Regions from separate parts of the Homo sapiens genome. Here region 1 is linked to region 2. Evidence: promoter capture Hi-C in 16 types of primary human blood cells and fetal thymus (Javierre and others, 2016). All regions are on one chromosome and are shown on one strand. The core of a region is centred on a gene start or on the middle of the fragment in contact, and the rest is flanking DNA. Distances in the headings are between cores, read along the strand shown.

The links. The method cuts DNA at HindIII sites, captures the fragments that hold promoters and counts their contacts. A CHiCAGO score of 5 or more calls a contact.
Region 1: a contact is called between a fragment that was not itself captured here and the fragment with the promoter of HIRA in region 2, in 2 of 17 cell types (naive CD4 T cells and naive CD8 T cells). The highest score is 7.0, in naive CD4 T cells.

The regions. Positions count from the first base shown.
Region 1 is chr22:19,096,697-19,100,654 of GRCh38, reverse strand. The region is part of intron 1 of DGCR2 (DiGeorge syndrome critical region gene 2); the gene reads left to right. It overlaps LOC124905078 (a long non-coding RNA gene), which reads left to right and starts at 471. Exons shown (of 2, transcript XR_007068002.1): 1 at 471-510; 2 at 1,489-3,958. The HindIII fragment of the contact is 925 bases long and covers 2,165-3,089 here.
Region 2 is chr22:19,429,815-19,433,805 of GRCh38, reverse strand. HIRA (histone cell cycle regulator) reads left to right here and starts at 2,073. Exons shown (of 25, transcript NM_003325.4): 1 at 2,073-2,366. The coding sequence starts at 2,330. It overlaps MRPL40 (mitochondrial ribosomal protein L40), which reads right to left and starts at 1,261. Exons shown (of 4, transcript NM_003776.4): 1 at 1,199-1,261; 2 at 458-541. The coding sequence starts at 1,251. RefSeq lists silencers at 1,187-1,496, 1,787-2,186 and enhancers at 2,471-3,218, 3,167-3,236, 3,477-3,606. The HindIII fragment of the contact is 6,181 bases long and covers 1-3,991 here.

The DNA of each region.
Region 1 (3,958 bases), core at 1,378-3,877, 330 kb after region 2:
TCGCTCTGTCGCCCAGGCTGGAGTGCAGTGGCACGATCTTGGCTCACTGCAACCTCCGTCTCCCGGATTCAAGCGATTCTCCTGCCTCAGCCTCCCGAGTAGCTGGGACCACAGGCACCCACCACCACGTCCGGCTAATTTTTTTGTGTTTTTAGTAGAGACGGGGTTTCACCATGTTAGCCAGGATGGGGCTGTCCTTATGTTGGTACTGTGGCTGGTATGTTGTGGGCATGGATTGTTTCATAAAGTGTCAACAATCCATTGGCTAAGAGGAGCTGGCCTGCCTCTGCCATGCTACAGCAAGGTGACAGTCATCACCAGAAGGCCTGGGACAGGACCTTGTAAAGCCATCAGTGAAAAGGGGTGACTTTCTTTTTCTTTTTTTTGAGACAGAGTCTTGTTCTGTTGTACAGGCTGGAGTGCAGTAGCGTGATCTTGGCTCACTGCAACCTCGCCTCCCCGGTTCAAGCGATTCTTGTGTCTCAGCCTTCCGAGTAGCTGGGATTACAGGTGTGTGCCACCACGTCCAGCTAATGTTTGTATTTTAGTAGGGACAGGGTTTCGCCTTGTCCAGGCTGGTCTCAAACTCCTAGCCTCAAGTGATCCTCCTACCTTGGCCTCCCAAAGTGCTGGGATTATAGGCATGAGCCACCATACTGGGTCAAGGGTGACTTTTTTTTTTTTAAAGACAGAATCTTGCTCTGTCGTCCAGGCTGGAGTGCAGTGGTACAATCTCGGCTCACTGCAACCTCTGCCTCCTGGGTTTAAGAAATTCTCTGCCTCAGCCTCCAGAGTAGCTGGGATTACAGACATGTGCCACCATGCCCAGCTAATTTTTTTGTATTTTTAGTAGAGTCAAGGTTTCACCATCTTGGCCAGGCTGGTCTTGAACTCCTGACCTTGTGATCCACGTGCCTTGGCCTCCCAAAGTGCTGGGATTACAGGCGTGAGCCACCACGCCTGGCCAAGGGTGACTGTTTTTAAGCAACTTTGTATGTGGCAGAAGTTGCACTTACTGCTTTACAGAGAGACTGTGGAGGATATTGAGAAAGGACAGGCAATTTTTTGTTGGTGGTGGTGTTTTGTTTTTTTGAGACAGGTTGGAGTACAGTGGTGTGATCGTGACTCACTGCAGTCTTGACTTCTCAGGCTGAGGTGATTCTCCCACCTCAGCCTCCTGAGTAGCTGGGACTACAGGCATGCACACCACCACATCTGGCTTATGTTTTGTATTTTTAGTAGAGCTGGGATTTCACCATGTTGGCCAGGCTGGTCTCGAACTCCTGGGCTTAAGTAATCTACCTGCCTTGGCCTCCCAAAGTGTTGGGGTAACAGGCGTGAGTCACCACGCGTAGTCAGTGGAAACGCAGTGTTGATGTCCAGCTAAAGCAATGCCAGTTTGACCTGTTGGAGTCACCATCTGGTGTGCTGTGCTGGATGCAAGCTCTGTCATGTCCTGGAATTGACTTTCTTTGTTCATTACCACAGCCCTGTCACCTGGAGAACTGCCTGGCACAGAGTAGGTGCCAGTGTTAATGAGTGATCCACATCTTCAGTTGCTTCCAGAATAGACCCGGCTTGACAGATGGATCAAGAAGGGAGAAAAACCTTCCCTATTGGAGAACTTCTGACACTTCATTGTCTGCTAGCAGAATATGGGAAGATTTTGAGCTGTGCAGTTCATTAGGCATTTAGTGCATGCCTCCATGTGTGGGGTGTTGGTGACATGGAGTATGGGGCAGCAATAAAGATGTGTCCCTCAGCCAGACACAGTGGCTCATGCCTGTAATCCCAAAACTTTGAGAGCATAAGGTGAGAAGATTGCTTGAGCTCAGGAGTTCGAGACCAGCCTGGGCAACATAGCAAGACCTTGTCTTTACTAAAAATAAAAAATAAAAAATTAGCTGAGTATGGTGGTATGTGCCTGTAGTCCCAGCTACTTGGGAGTCTGGGGCAAGAGGATCACTGGAGCCCAGGGTGTCTACGCTGCAGTAATCTGTGGTCATGCCGCTGCATTCCAGCCTGGGTGACAGAGCGAGACCCTGTCTCAAAAAACAAAACATTTACATGTATGTAAAATGTCCCTATATGTATACTCGAGAACAGGGTTTGGCAAACTATACCTGCAACTGGCCACTGTTTTTTTTTGTTTTTCGCTAAAGCTTTATTGGACATGCCTATGCCCACGCATTCCCATATTATCTGCAGCTGCTTTAGCTCCACGGCAGCAGGGTTGAGCAGCTGTGGCAGAGAGAGGGTGGCCTGTGAAGCTGGCCACCTGGAAATACTTATCATCTGGCCCTTGAAGGAAAAGTGTGCTGACCCTACTCAGGGTGTGAAGAAAAGAACAGAGAAGGGCTGCTTAGGAAAACAGGGCTAGGCCAAGAAGGCCGACTCAGTTAGGGGAGTTTGGGGAGGGGTTCCTGGAGAGTGGTGTGTCTTGAGACCTGGGGAGAGGGGATGCCATGGACTAAGGCCCAGCAGTGGGGAGCCCAGCTGTGTTCAGGATGTAGCAAGACAGTCATTCTGCTGATAGCTTATTTTTCCTCTTTTGATAACTATTTTTTTTTTAAAAGTCTGGAGAAAGAAAGAAAAGGACAGAAAATCCGTGTGGGGGCTATTTTAGCCAGAGCTGTCTGGTTGTAAGGAGTAGCTGTAGGAGGAACTTTTCCCTGAGCCCAGGGAGGAAGCACAGCCATCCTTGGGGTCATGGGACTGTGAAGGGTGTTGCTCCCCTTTCTCAGCCCTTCTGGTCTTAGCCCTTACCTCTTTCTGCCTCAGGGTGCACAGAACTTCAAGTGACTGTCTCAGTCTGGCTAGCCTGGATCTTCCCACTCCCATCACCTTACAGACTCTTCTCATTGGCCCAGCCTGGGGCAGGGCAGGTGGCACTCATGGAGTGGCCAGATGGGCACTTCTCAAAGAGGAAGGCTGTTTGGGCCTTTGGAGCCTTTCCCAGACATGCATAGAGTATGGAGAGAAGAAGTATTCTTCAAGTGTGTTTGAGTTATGGACACTAAGTGTGGTCGGCTATGCCCTGGGAACACAGGAGTGAACAGTGCAGACATGACCTGTGCCCTCAGGAAGCTTTACTTTTTTTTTCGAGACAGAGCCTTGCTCTGTCGCCCAGGCTGGAGTGCAGTGGTGCAATCTCAGCTTACTGCAGCTTCCGCCTCCCGGATTCGAGCAGTTCTCTGCCTCAGCCTCCAGAGTAGCTGGGATTACAGGCACCCGCACCACACCTGGCTAATTTTTGTGTTTTTAGTAGAGACGAGGTTTCAACATCTTGGCCAGGCTGGTCTTGAACTCCTGACCTTGTGATCCACCCGCCTCGGCTTCCCAAAGTGCTGGGATTACAGGCGTGAGCCACTGCACCTGGCTGTTTCACTTACATATCTATATATGTATATATATATATAGGTTTACTATATACTGATATATAGGAAGCCAGGAGTGACAAGTACTACTTAGAAGCAGCCAAGGCAAGGCAAGGTGGATGTGGTGCATGGGGGAAGGGGCCTTGTTTGCCAGAGAAGACTTGGCTGACGTTTGCTTTTGGAGGATATAGGGGTATGGAGAAAGAAAACCCCCAGTGTTGTTACTTATTACTTCTTACTCAACTATTTCCAAAAATAATTTAAGGTAGTGCATTGAAGTTTTTCTGGGCCTAGGGTATGATATGTTAGGGCGTAGATTTGGAGGGCTGTGACATGAGCTATGAATTTACTTTGAACAACACCATAGGGTGTTTTTTTTTTTTGTTTTTTTTTTTAATAGAATGGACACTGTTAAAATATTCTGCTGGGCGGGGTAGCTCAGGCCTGTAGTCTGAGGTGGGAGAGTCATTTGACTTTGAGGCACCATGATTGTGCCTGTGAATAGCCACCACTGCACTCTGGCCTGGGCAACATAGTAAGACCCCATCTCTAAAAAATAAAAAAGAATGTTCTGTTGCTAA
Region 2 (3,991 bases), core at 824-3,323:
GGGTGACACAGTGAGACTCCATCTCAAAAAAAAAAGAAAAATCAAATCCTTTACTATCAAGATTGACTGAATCAAGTATCTACAAAGAGTCGAGAGTGCCAGATGGAAATACCTTTAATACTTGCATCTTCCCCACACTCTCCAGGGCCTCCGAATGGGCAGGGAAGAGGAAGGGTCATGGAGAAACAGAAACTTAAGCTGTGTCCTTTAAAACACACAAGAATCCCTTCAAGGAGAATACTTACTTCTTGAGAAACTGCTCAAATTTTAAAAATTACAAACAACAATCTATGGTTTGGAAAATGTTGGAAAAACAGAAAAGCATCGGCCTAAATTTAACTGAGAAACTTTGTAGGCTGTTAATTTTGCAAACCACACATCCAGCATTCTTGCTTTGTTCTCTACACATAGACTGACACCTTTACCCCCAGAGGTCAGGCCCTCGATTGAGTTTTACCTCATGGGAATGAGTTCCCAGAAAGACAACAATGACGCTCGCTGGTGAGTCTCTCTAAGCTGCGTCTGCCAAGTTCCCAGAAGCCTGAAAGATACAAGAGTATGTATAAATATCTGCTTCTCCAGGCTAGGCGCGGTTGCTCACGTCTGTAATCCCAGCACTTTGGGAGGCCGAGGCGGGTGGATCGCGAGGTCAGGAGTTCAAGACCAGCCTGGCCAACATGGTGAAACCCCGTCTCTACTAAAAATACAAAAATTAGCCGGGCGTGGTGTTGGGCGCCTGTAATCCGAGCTACTCGGGAGGCCGGGGCAGAACTGCTTGAACCCGGGAGGCAGAGGTTGCAGTGAGCCGAAATCGCGCCACTGCACTCCAGCCTGGGCGACAGAGCGAGACTCTGTCTCAAATAAATAAATAAATATCTGATTCTCTCCCACTTCACAGGAAAATAAAAAATTGCAATGCTCCCAAACCCGGGGCACTTCTAACTACTTGATATGACAGCAAGGTCAACGTGGAAGGTTTTTCAAAATCTTTCGTTCAGACCACAGAGGACTTAAGCAGGACCGCTGCTCGCCAGGGTGCTCAGATTTTCATGCATAAGAGTCACGACCAGATGGCTCATCCCTGAGATATTCGTGGACTGGGAGGCGAGCAGGGAGCACAGGCGAGTCCTGGCGGACAGTCGCGAAGACCCCGCACGCGCCCTGGGCACTCCGCTATCCGGCCAGCGTCCGCACTCACCCGCTAGTCGGGCGCAGGGCTAGCGAGATACTTCGCAGCACGGAGGCCGTCATGGCTACCCTCGCCGCTTCCGGGCGTGCGCCCCTCCACAGTCCGGCCCGCGGTGCCCCCTGCTGAGGTCCGGCAGACCAGGCGCCCAGCGCTCAGGCGTTCCGGCTGCGTGGGCTGGGACGCGCCTGTCCCCGCCCCCGACGCAGCCCCGCCTAGGGTGTCAGCTGCGCACACACGAGGGCCTTGCGTTTCACGCGGCTCGGGGTCCTCCCTTCCGTCCCCGCCCTGTGCTGGGAGCGCGCCTCTGCAGCGGGCACAGTCTAGCCAGTCAGGCCCTAGCCGGTTGGTCGGTCTGCGCCCTCGCGCGGGCCTCGGCTCCGCAGTGCAGCCGGAGCGGCCGAGGGGGCGTCCCTCTGCTCCTCCGAGTCCAAATGTTCATGTCTAGGCAAACGGCCCCGATCTTCTAATAAACGCGTCCGCCCCAGCCTCCCCCACCAGGGTTGGCTCGTCCCCCGCATTCGTTCGAGTCCGAAGCCCGGATCGCATTCCGGCGCCGGCGCGGAGCCCGGCGCTCGCAAGATGCCCAATAGCGCGTGTTGATGAATGACGGAAGCTAGTTAATAAGTCGGACTCAGACTGGCGAGGCAGAGCTGGTGACGGGCGGTCCACGCCACCTGGGCCCCGCCTGCCTCTGCGGGCGGCCCGGGTTGCAACTGCAGGCCCCGCTCGCTGTCCGCCGTCCAGGCGAACCGCCCTTTCTGGGGCGCCCGCGCCCGGGCCCGACCCGAAGCCCCTGCCAGCGGAGGAGCCGGGGCGGCCCAGTCCGCGTGGGGAGCGGTTTCCCGCCGGGGCGATTTGGCAGGTGCGCGCCGTGACTTCCGGCGTTGCCCGGGAGCCGCCTGAGGAGGAGCGGCGCAGGGGATGCGGCTGTGGTGGCGGCGGCGGCGGCCGAGCGCGGGTGGCGGCTGTGGCGGCGGAGGGGGGCGCGGGCCGGCGATGGCGCGGCGGCCCTGAGGGCGCGGGGCGGGCGGCGGCCGGAGGGCGGGTGGCGCGGGAGGAAGCGGCGGCGGTGGCTCCATGGCCCGGGCGCGCTGAGGGACCCGGCGCTCGCCTCAGCCCGGCGGCGGCGGCGGCCGAACAATGAAGCTCCTGAAGCCGACCTGGGTCAACCACAATGGTGAGTGCGCGCAGGGGTCGCGGGAGGCCGAGCCCGGAGTCGGGTCGGGGTCTGGAGTCGAGTCGGGGCGCGCGCAAGTCCTGCCTGTCTCGCCCCTGACGCCCGGTACCCGGTGCCCAAGCCAAGAAGCCGGCGGGAGCGGACTTTGTCCTCAGCGCGGAGAGGCTGGTGAGCCCCAGCACGTGCTCCGGGTTGACCGCAGCGAGGGCCATCTTCGCCCCTGGCTCTTGCTCTGAGTCTTCCGCTGCCCACCTGTGGTCCTTGGAGGGGCCGCGGCCTGGCTCCCAGGAGCGGGCCTTGGTGCCAGCCAGTGCCTTCCACTGGTCTGCATCGCCCGAGAAGTGCTCAGACGGTCCTGAAGGTGAAACCGGGATGAAATCCCCCTTGTGGCCTTTCAGTGGCAGGATGAAGATCCGAAATCTGCAAGAGGGACTGTTACTGCCCCTCTGGATCTGGGGACAGTGCCCCCAGTTGGGGAATTGTGGTCCCTAAATAGGAGGGTTTGGGGGCCCCGGGCCCCCGCGAAGGATCCACGATTAATGCTGAGCTGGGACATCAGGGTGAACTAGGGTTGGGCAGATAGGGCACAGGTGTGTTCTAGCAGAGGGGCTTCTTAGCTCTGTGGCAGTGGCTCCAAAGCACACCCTTGGGGAACGGACTCATCCACCCCATATCTTGACTCTGATACAGAGAGGCTAGTGGTAATCAGTTTCGTCATAGTTCTGCCTTGTTGGCAGAACTGCTGCAGGAGTTGGTGTTTGCTCCCCGGGTAGATGAAAAAAGCGCGCCTCCCCCTCCCCCACCCCACTCTGCTGACAGCACTGTAGCACAGAAATCAACCCAGGGAGACTCCTCCAGCCCAGGGCCTGATTCTGGCCTGTCTGACTGTTGACAGGCAAAGGGTCACCCTGATGCTGTCTTGTTCCTCATTTCTACTTTGCAGTGCGACTACAGGGTGCTACCGTTTTCTTTAGGAGCGAGAATAGATATTTTAACATGTGGCTTTTTCGTTTTGAATTTGGTCCCAGGATGCTCTCTACTACCACAACTAAACTGAACTGATCATGTGTGTGTTCTCCTCCTGCCACCTCTCTCTCCTTCCATCTTGTGTGACATCTTTCCCATTTTTCAGGGACTAGGTTCACGTGTTTCTTTTGAAACTGTTCATCCTGAGTTACCCCGGTAGATGTGCTGTATCACTGTCTGTGTGTTTTGCCTGGCATGGAAGGTGTGAGGGTACTTTCCATATGCCCCCAGGGTAGGGACTGCCTCAGTCCCTTCTGTATGCCCTACTGCATTGAACAACCTCTTCCACATGATGGGTATGTGATAAATATTGGCTAAAACAGGTAAGAAAGCTGAGGTTTTCATAATTTATCAAGATGAAGTTAGGTTTACTGTGCATGAAAGCCGAAGCCTTGAGTTTTAGTTTCATTTCTCCTGTTGATCTCCAAGAGCATTTCCTGATGTGTACTGTGCAGATCTTTCCCTGGAGAACTGGACAAATATTGTAATTATGAATTATGATGCTTGTGATTAGGAAAGGAAAAATGTTATTATGAACTAGTTTACTGTGTGAAGGTCTGATAGAATTTTTATTTTAAAATGCTTTACCTAAATCAGTT